2 separate regions of the Homo sapiens genome follow, and region 1 is linked to region 2. The links are contacts of gene promoters, found by promoter capture Hi-C in blood cells and fetal thymus (Javierre and others, 2016). All regions are on one chromosome and are shown on one strand. The core of a region is centred on a gene start or on the middle of the fragment in contact, and the rest is flanking DNA. Distances in the headings are between cores, read along the strand shown.

Evidence for each region. Contacts are between HindIII fragments. The CHiCAGO score rates a contact against its expected background, and 5 or more counts as called.
Region 1: a fragment that was not itself captured here is called in contact with the fragment with the promoter of ASTL in region 2 in 4 of 17 cell types (M1 macrophages, M0 macrophages, naive CD8 T cells and 1 more); the score reaches 8.9 in M1 macrophages.

What each region holds. Positions count from the first base shown.
Region 1 is chr2:96,286,394-96,290,881 of GRCh38, reverse strand. It overlaps SNRNP200 (small nuclear ribonucleoprotein U5 subunit 200), which reads left to right. Exons shown (of 45, transcript NM_014014.5): 19 at 67-198; 20 at 368-556; 21 at 886-1,083; 22 at 1,503-1,655; 23 at 1,765-1,845; 24 at 2,136-2,219; 25 at 2,913-3,019; 26 at 3,325-3,443; 27 at 3,722-3,876; 28 at 4,005-4,194; 29 at 4,398-4,488. Among named protein-coding and RNA genes, the nearest start is that of SNRNP200, 17 kb to the left of the region's middle. The HindIII fragment of the contact is 2,153 bases long and covers 505-2,657 here.
Region 2 is chr2:96,134,745-96,140,020 of GRCh38, reverse strand. It overlaps ASTL (astacin like metalloendopeptidase), which reads left to right and starts at 1,519. Exons shown (of 9, transcript NM_001002036.4): 1 at 1,519-1,639; 2 at 2,321-2,446; 3 at 4,609-4,670. The coding sequence starts at 1,585. RefSeq lists a silencer at 615-704 and enhancers at 1,595-1,664, 4,005-4,054, 4,906-5,276. The HindIII fragment of the contact is 4,955 bases long and covers 962-5,276 here.

The sequences.
Region 1 (4,488 bases), core at 332-2,831, 150 kb before region 2:
AAGCCAGGGATATTAACCCCTGGTGATGGCATCTGTTCTCCTCATTACCTTGTTTTGCCTCTGTAGGTTTTAGTTTCCACAGCAACTCTAGCTTGGGGTGTGAATCTCCCTGCACATACAGTCATCATCAAAGGCACCCAGGTGTACAGTCCAGAGAAGGGGCGTTGGACAGAACTGGGAGCACTGGACATTCTGCAGGTACAGAGCCTTTTGAGTTTATTCTCAGCAGGGATCAGTATCCTTGCCTGAAATGCAGGGATGCTGGAAAGCTAGCAGATCAGAGGTCTAGTTCTGTAATGTAGATACCTGCATCAAAATTCAGACATTCTCTTGACATAGCATTCTTGGTTCGCTGTCTCTGATCTAGATGCTGGGACGTGCCGGAAGACCCCAGTATGACACCAAGGGTGAAGGCATACTCATCACATCTCATGGGGAGCTACAGTACTACCTGTCCCTCCTCAATCAACAACTTCCTATTGAAAGCCAGATGGTTTCAAAGCTTCCTGACATGCTCAATGCAGAAATCGTGCTAGGAAATGTCCAGAATGCCAAGGTAGGGGAGGACTGCTTGTTGTGCTTCATGCTTTCCCCGCAGACACCAAGGCACCAGGAGTGGGTCGGTCCCTATTGTGCTGCGGGCCAGCAGCGTCCGAGGCCTTCCATCCCTGCACCCACATCTTGGGTCTGGCAGATAGTTCCCCTTGTTACCAAGATCTTAGAAGACGCTTAGATCTTTTTAATAATGAAATGCTAAAAACATTCAGAATACGATGTAATATGCATCCTTGTAGTTGGGAATTAATTTCTAAGCAATTCATGGGAGCCTGTCATTTGGACATCAAGAGTTTCTCCATGCTAAGAACCATGAGCTGTGTCTTGTAGGATGCGGTGAACTGGCTGGGCTATGCCTACCTCTATATCCGAATGCTGCGATCCCCAACCCTCTATGGCATCTCTCATGATGACCTCAAGGGAGATCCCCTGCTGGACCAGCGCCGACTAGATCTGGTTCATACAGCTGCCCTGATGCTGGACAAGAACAATCTGGTCAAGTACGACAAGAAGACGGGCAACTTCCAGGTGCGTGGGGTGAGGGTTTTGAGGCAAAGGTCTCAGCAAAAGTTGTTGGCCCAGGAAAAAATTTTTCAGATTGCTCTCTTGATGTGAGTACTGCCTATCTAATCACCTGTTGCTTAGAACAGCAGAAAAATGGGTAGCTTTTCCCATAACTTGAGGTGGATAATTCAGCTGTCTTGTCCGTGCAGACATCATTTCACTATGGGTCAGCTTATTCTGCTGTTTTTCTTCATGTGCCTGGGCCTGGCACTTGTACTGCTGTGACTTCATCCAGTTGTCCTATTAGGACAATAATGACATTGGGTCATATACTTTACCAAAAAAAAAGTACAAAAAACCTATAGGACAGTAACTTATGGTCCACAGTTAGAGGTTGGAGCTCATTAATAGTCAGCACTGGATTGAGTCTACCTTCTCTCCAGGTGACAGAACTGGGCCGTATAGCCAGCCACTACTACATCACCAATGATACAGTGCAGACTTACAACCAGCTGCTGAAGCCCACCCTGAGTGAGATTGAGCTTTTCAGGGTCTTCTCATTGTCCTCTGAGTTCAAGAACATCACAGTGAGAGAGGTGAGCCTATGCAGCATGATGGGGCGGGGAGTTGGTGCTCACCAAGTCACTGAATGGTGTCCCTCCTCGGCCACAAGGCTTTCCCTTGACCTTTTCCTCCTTGTGGCAGGAGGAGAAGCTGGAGCTGCAGAAGTTGCTGGAGAGGGTGCCTATCCCTGTAAAGGAGAGCATTGAGGAACCCAGTGCTAAGGTGAGCTCCTCTCCTCTTTGCTTTGATAAGGATGAGGATTAAGTGGTTTTCATAATCTTCTAAAAGATGAACCTTGAATTTGGGTTCATGTGTGGTTTCCTGCTCAGTTCTCCTAGTTTTTGCAGCCTTCTCGCATGTTCTTTTTATATGAAATAACAATTATTTAGTATTTGTAAATCAAGACCTGTAGCAAATCTCACCTGGCCTGGATGCTCAGAGCAGAAATGTAATTCCCTTTCTTGGACTGTTCAGTGATTGGTCTCCTGCTGGCTGATTTTGCTTCTTTACAGATCAACGTTCTTCTGCAAGCCTTCATCTCACAGCTGAAATTGGAGGGCTTTGCACTGATGGCTGACATGGTGTATGTCACACAGGTGAGAGCGGAGTTGTATGGCAGCTGTGAGAAGGGGCCTGAACAGTTCAATCCCTGTGTGCTGTGTGCATCCTGGGGAAAGGAGGCCCGACCCTAGTGAGATGGGAGGAGTGCTTAGTTCTGCTCTTGCCGGGTAGTTGGTTGGTGCATGTGTGGTACAGCCACTCTGTAGTATACATCTTGAGCACGTGGGAAAGGTAAGACCTTAAGAGGGAATGCTTCGAGGCTCCACGGGCCCTCAGAGAGACAGGAAGAGCCACAGCACGCAGTGTCTGCTTCCCAGCAGCAAAGTGATTTCCCACTGTTGCTGCACAGCTCATAAATAAATCCAAAAATGGCACAGGGTTTTATTAGCTGCTCTTCATCTTTACCTCTAAGAACAGGTCACTGGTACCCTCAACTCTTCCTAGAACTCTAAATGCTAAATGACTCAAAAGCTTTAAAATCATGCAGTGAATGTTAGGTTAAAATGTTGTGCAGTGACCTTGAGCCGCAGCACTCTTCTAATTGTTCCCCATCCGGCAAGCATCTACTATATGGAACGGAGAAAGGCGTAAAGACAGAGGGGACTTTGCCTTTGAGTTAGGGTGGGTGGTTGTGTCAGAGCTGGAGGTAATGAAACCGTGTGTAGAGTGGCTCATGAGGCCTGGGGATAGTCGAGACTTAACAGTGGGAATGCTGCTTCTTTGCTTAGTCGGCTGGCCGGTTGATGCGAGCGATATTTGAAATTGTCCTGAACCGAGGTTGGGCACAGCTTACAGACAAGACCCTGAACCTCTGCAAGATGATCGACAAACGCATGTAAGGACCCAGTGAGCTGGATGCTGGTCACCATGAGTGGGGGTCCCCAACCCAAGGGTCTGATGGGAAAGCCTCAGGGTGCATCTGATCTCCAGACCTGACATCGGAAGTATGACCTGAACCTTGGTGCACATTGAGAAGAGGGAAGGCCCTCTGTGGTGGAGGCCAGGGCTGGCACAGTGTCAGTGTCTGCCTTTAATGACTGTGTTTTGTGTAGTCACTGCTAAACTATTGGAAGCCATGAAGTGGGTGGTTTGTCACATCCCTGCAGAAGGGACCAACAGCTTTGCCTCCTTCCTGGATAGGTGGCAGTCCATGTGTCCTCTGCGCCAGTTCCGGAAACTCCCTGAGGAAGTAGTGAAGAAGATTGAGAAGAAGAATTTCCCCTTTGAGCGTCTGTACGACCTGAATCATAATGAGATTGGTGTGTGGGATGCTCTCGCCCTTGTCCTCACTGCCTGGGTGTCTCTCCCAGTTTGCCTATGTAGTCTTCCTGTTCCTAGGCCTGTGCATTAGTATCCTGTGTTCACTCCCCAAGTCCCACTGAAGTACAGGCTGGCCCTTGGTCTGGGGACTTGGAATCCTGGGCTCCACTGACCATAAAGGGAAGACCCTACCCCTTTCCCACAGTGGCCCTCAGGCCCAGTTTGCAGTATAGTAGGCAGGCTGGGCTGCAGCCTCAGTACTCTCATTTCCTTGTAGGGGAGCTTATCCGCATGCCAAAGATGGGGAAGACCATCCACAAATATGTCCATCTGTTTCCCAAGTTGGAGTTGTCAGTGCACCTGCAGCCTATCACACGCTCCACCCTGAAGGTGGAGCTGACCATCACGCCAGACTTCCAGTGGGATGAAAAGGTGAGGCTTTGCTGGGCAGAGGTGCTGGATTGGAGGTGCTCAGTCTACGTTGCTGGGCCGAGGAGATGGATTGGAGGCACTCAGTCTACGTTGACTCACATTCCTTTTACCCTTGCTCCTGTTGGCAGGTGCATGGTTCATCCGAGGCTTTTTGGATTCTGGTGGAGGATGTGGACAGCGAGGTGATTCTGCACCATGAGTATTTTCTCCTCAAGGCCAAGTACGCCCAGGACGAGCACCTCATTACATTCTTCGTGCCTGTCTTTGAACCGCTGCCCCCTCAGTACTTCATCCGAGTGGTGTCTGACCGCTGGCTCTGTGAGTGTCTCCTCTCCAGAGTCCCCAGGAACAGTCCCTCCAAGGACAGTAGAAGAATGTCTTGCACTTTGTCCCGGGCTTGCCCTTGCTGGGGACAGAGTGATACATATGCTGCCTAGGTTTCCAGTGTTCATGGAGGGGATCTAGAGGCCAGTGAGGGAAAGAGAGCAGTGCTTATATCCTTCCTGTTTCTTTTCTGGCAGCTTGTGAGACCCAGCTGCCTGTCTCCTTCCGGCACCTGATCTTGCCGGAGAAGTACCCCCCTCCAACCGAACTTTTGGACCTGCAGCCCTT
Region 2 (5,276 bases), core at 270-2,769:
TCCACCTCTGGGTTCAAGTGATTCACCTGCCTCAGCCTCCCGAGTAGGTGGGATTACAGGTGCCCGCCACCGTGCCCAGCTAATTTTTGTATTCTTTTAGTAGAGATGGGGTTTCACCATGGTGGCCAGTCTGGTCTTGAATTCCTGACCTCGTGATCCACCTGCCTTGGCCTCCCAAAGTGCTGGGATTATAGGCGTGAGCCACCGCGCCCTCCTGAACACTCATCTTAAGTGGTCAGCCTTGTGCATTTGTTTTTTGATGGGTCCTATTCTTTATTTTACTTATTTTTTCTAGGTTTACTGAGGCATAATCGACAAATAAAAGTAGTATATGTTTAAGTATACAACGTGATGTTTTGACATATGCATACCTTGTGAAATGATGACCACAACAAGCTAACTAGCATATCCATGGTGTGTATCCTGACATCTGTCAATACCCTGCCCTGGCAGCAGGGCGTCTGCCTCCATCATGGTCTCCCTGTGATTCTGATTCCTATCTTTGGAGAAGCTCTGGATTCCAGGCACAGTGGGAATGCTGAAAGGTCCTTGTGGACAATAGCTATTCTTCTTGGCTCTGTCGCTTCCCTTCACTGGGTGCAGGTGACTGTGGGGGTGTCCCCAAATGCTGCCCAGCGCTGACATGCTCCGCCTCTGGGATTTCAATCCAGGTGGGGCCCTGAGTGACCTGGCTCTGGGGCTCAGGGGTATGGAGGAGGGGGGATATAGGTAAGGAGTTTAAATTTCCAAATCTGTGAAATGGGAATAAATACTGACTGATCATGCCAGCTGCTGTGGGATTAGGGGGTGGACTCCCTGCGAGGCTCTGGGCATCTGGGGGTTCCACCTTTCCCACATGGCAGGCTTTCTAGGGTGCTGCACACTGTTCAGTTTGTGAAATTTCCTGGAGCCCTGTGCTTGTGATAGTGAACTTTTCTATATGTGTACTAAAATAAAAGCTTGTGAAAGTGCAGTGACCTTTTCCTCCTTCCGGAGATACACGGGGGGCGCCCCAGGGTCTCAGGCAGCTTTCCCCATGTCTAAGCACAGGCCGGGGTAGGAAAGGGGGTCTCCCTCGCTGGAGGAATAGGTCTATACCTGGGCTGGGGCCTCAGCTAGGCCTGGAGCAACTTTCTGCGATGTTTCTCTGCCCCCTGGAGGCAGGAAGGAACCTCAGAAGAGCCACACTCCCAAGCGGGCCCCTCCTGTCTTTCACCTGCTACAGCCAGGAAGGGGACTGGGCTGGGGTGGGAACCACAGGTAGGCATCGGAGGGGCTGCCAGTAGACCTGGTTTGGGTGGCGCTGCCGGTAGAGCTGGTTGGGGCGGGGCTGCAGGTGGAGCTGGTTGGGGCGGGGCTGCAGGTGGAGGTGGTTGGGGCGGGGCTGCAGGTGGAGATGGTTGGGGCGGGGCTGCAGGTGGAGGTGGTTGGGGCGGGGCTGCAGGTGGAGGCGGTTGAGGGGAGCAAGGTGGGAGGTGGAGCAGCTGCTATTTAAGAGGGGGTGGTGGTGCCGGTTCTGCAATTAGGTTACTGTGTCTTGCTGGGGCTTGGTCTTGTTTGCTGAAGGGGCAGCAGGGCTCTACCATGGAGGGTGTAGGGGGTCTCTGGCCTTGGGTGCTGGGTCTGCTCTCCTTGCCAGGTAAGCTGGCTGCCTGTCCCTCCTGCTGCTGGCTCCAGCCTGGAGAAAGCTGGGGAGAGGCTAGAAGGTTGTGGCTGGAGCCTGCAGGGATTGTAGCTGAGCTCAGTAGCTCAGAGCACAGAGCTCTCCAGGGTTATTCTAGAAGTCAGCTCCTGGGGGGCCAAGGGGAGGCCTCCTGAAGGCCCTGGAAGCAGAGGGCCTGCCTGGCAGAAGATAAGTGTTGTGCCCCAGGCCTACTTGTCTTGGGGTGGGGGTAGGCTGTAAGTCCCCACTCCAGCCTGGTCAGGCAGGGAGTCATCCAGGCTGAGCCCATTGTCCAAGAGCCTGGGCTGAGAGAGAGTCATAAGGTGGGGTCTGAGGCTGGCCCTGCCCGTCACGGGCGTCAGAACCCGAGGTCTGTCCTGCCTCCTTCCTTCCTGCCCCTCCTCTACCTCATAGGTGGGGCACATGGTCCCTTTTGGTCCCCCTAAGGGAGCTCCTTCCCTGAGGTCATCTAGACCTTGGCACCAGTTGGGGTTGAGCAGGGAGGCTGGGAAGGCTCCTTGGCTTTGTGCTGGAGCCTACTCTTCCTAGGGACTGAGTCTTACCGTCTGATCCCCCACACCCACCCCATGTCCTGCTGTCTGGTCTCACCGGTGGGTGCTCCAGGCATCTGTGTATGCCCCTGTCTGTCTGGACCAGGTGTGATCCTAGGAGCGCCCCTGGCCTCCAGCTGCGCAGGAGCCTGTGGTACCAGCTTCCCAGATGGCCTCACCCCTGAGGGAACCCAGGCCTCCGGGGACAAGGACATTCCTGCAATTAACCAAGGTGAGGGCACTACATCTTCTCACGGCCTGGAGGGGCACGACGTTATGTAGTGTGAAAACCACACCGAACACTCAGAAATGCAGAGCCTGGGAGGAAATGGACCAGCTTACTCTGGGCTCTAAGTGGTTTTTAAGAGATGGAGTGGTGTTGCTATATTGCCCCGGCTGGTCTTGAACTCCTGGCCTTAAGTGATCTTCCTGCCTCTGCCTCCCGAGCAGCTGGGACTACAGGTGTGAATGGGTGGAAATTCTATGGGCAATTGCTTAAGTCTACTCTTTCTTTTTGTATCTTTCTTAGTGGATTGTTACTTTTATAAGAAAAACCAAGCTCTTAAAGGGCCTGGGCGTGGAGCTAAGCGGTTAGTCGCAGTCTGAGATTGTCAGCCACCCTGTGCAGGACTGTCTGCAGGTGTGATTAAGAAGTCTGAAGCTCAGCTGGGTGCGGTGGCTCTCGCCTGTAGTCCCAGCACTTTGGGAGGCTGAGGCGGGCAGATCATGAGGTCAGGAGATCGAGACCATCCTGGCTAACACAGTGAAACCCCGTCCCCACCAAAAATACAAAAATTAGCCGGGCGTGGTGGCGGGCGCCTGTAGTCCCAGCTACTCAGGAGGCTGAGGCAGGAGAATGGCATGAACCTGGGAGGCGGAGCTTGCAGTGAGCTGAGATTGCGCCACTGCACTCCAGCCTGGGCGACAGAGCATCTCACAAAAAACAAAAAACAAAAGTCAGGCTCAGGGCCTTGCTGTCTGGGGATGTCAGCTGAGGAATGAGGGTGTATAAATAGCCTGAACAAAGCCAGTTGAAATGGAGACTGGAGTTCAGATGTTGGAGCAATGAGGGCTGAAGCACTCAGGGTTGAAGCAATCGGGCTGAACAGGGGACAACCTTGCCCTAAGGGTGGGTGAGATCCTACCAGATGTGGTAGCCACTGTGTGATCTGCCCCCTTCTTCCTCTGTGAGCTGACTTGGGAGCCCAGCGCCAGCTGAGCCTTGAGCCCCAGGCACCATCCCACCCCTGGATCACCGTGAGTGGTCTGCAGGTAACCAGAACCAATGGAGAAAACTCCCAAATGCTGGTGACCCCAACAACTATCCTATCACCTACGGTGAGGCTGTCTCATAAGGGCTGCCCGTGCCTTACCCAGTGCTTTCCTGGGAAGCACCTGCCCATCTCCAGCCACTGTGAATATGGCTAATGCTGCACAGCTGTCTGCCTCCCAAAACTGGCCCTTGGCCAGAAGGAGCTGCCTCAGCCAGAGATGCCCGGGGGCTACTCCCTTGTCTGCCCAAGGTGGCCTACTGTGACTTCTAAGGGACAGGAGTCTGGCTCCTGCCTAAAGGTGGTACAAGTCAGCGGTGTCATTTGTGGTCTGGAGCGCCCATGGGATCTGGCTGAGGCTGTGCCTGGGTTCTTCCCTGCCTTCTCTCCTGCTTCCCTCACTCCCCCTGTGAGTCACTTGTGGGAGACCCGGCTCAGGGAGAGATGAGAAGCAGAGGGACTAAGAGGGGAGAGGGGCTTGCGAGAGCCGGTATTTGCCTGCCTCTGATGGTGGAACAAATTTGTGGAACAAAATTGCCACCTCAAGGGGCCTGAATATAACAGATGGGTGGGGAATAGATGGGGGATGAGGTGGGCAGGAGACCCCAGGGCCTGTTCTGAGGAGTGTGGCTCAGGCTGGAAGAAGCCACTGCTTCCTGACAGCAGGGACCCGGGCTTGGGACTGGATTGCGTGGGTCATGGGCTGTGTTTGAGCAGGGGAAGGCTGCAGTCCAGCCGAGAAGCCTTGCACACTCAGGGACTGTGTGACTTCCCTGAGGCCACGCAGGCTCAGTGCTCAGGGAACCTCTAGCTCCACAGTCAGGAGAGGGACAGACCCCAAGCCTCAGTCTCCTTTGTCTTTGTCCTCCAGCCCCCTCACACCTGCAGACAGTCCGCACAGGGTGGCTGACATTCTCAAACATCAACTAATGACTTAACTAAACACCCAGGCTCGGAGAGCCGATGACCTATACTTTTATCAGGCTATTTAAGAACTTATAAAAGTAACAATCCACTAGGAAAGACACAAGAATAGACTTAAGTAAGTAGGGATTTGCTTGGCCTGTCCCACGAGTCAGTGTTCTGGGGGACATGGGCCAACACGTCCTTCTTCCTTTCCCAGGGCTCATCCTGGAAGAAACCCCAGAGAGCAGCTTCCTCATCGAGGGGGACATCATCCGGCCGGTGAGTGCACACACTGACGTGTGTGGGTGCGGATAAGCCCACAGTTGGCGACAGGTCCTCTGAGCCCACCCTGGATGCCATGGGGCCTGATGTGTGAGGGACATACATAGCTTGGTAGATGCCTCTTTTTGTCAAGGTCAGAGCGACTGTTCTGTTAGGAAATAGGAATAAGCCAGCCTGAATGCTAAGGAAGGCTGGTATCTGAAGTGCTGGCACAGTCAGCCTGAGAGGGCTTCCTGAAGGAGGAGGTTTGAACACTTGACCCAGCTTGGTACCCTGCCCAGGGGAGGTGCTCAGCACTCGGGAGGTGCTCAGATAAAGGAAGAGATGAGCAAGGGTTGGCAGAGTGGCCAGTGGCAGATAAAGGGCCTGGTGGCAGTGGCGACCTAGGGATGGTGGAACAAGGAGTGATGTTGAGCCTGACCATCTTGGCTGTGGTCGAGGGGCCGCATCTGAAGGGAGAAGGTTGCTGGGGATTGGGGCGCCTTGCTAACAGAAAAGGGAACACTGTGCCCAGGATGGCAGCCATGTGTTTCAGGCAACTGCGAATGGCAGAAGGCTCCTGAATAGGACAGTGACCCAGGGGAAGGCAAGACTGTCCTGTTG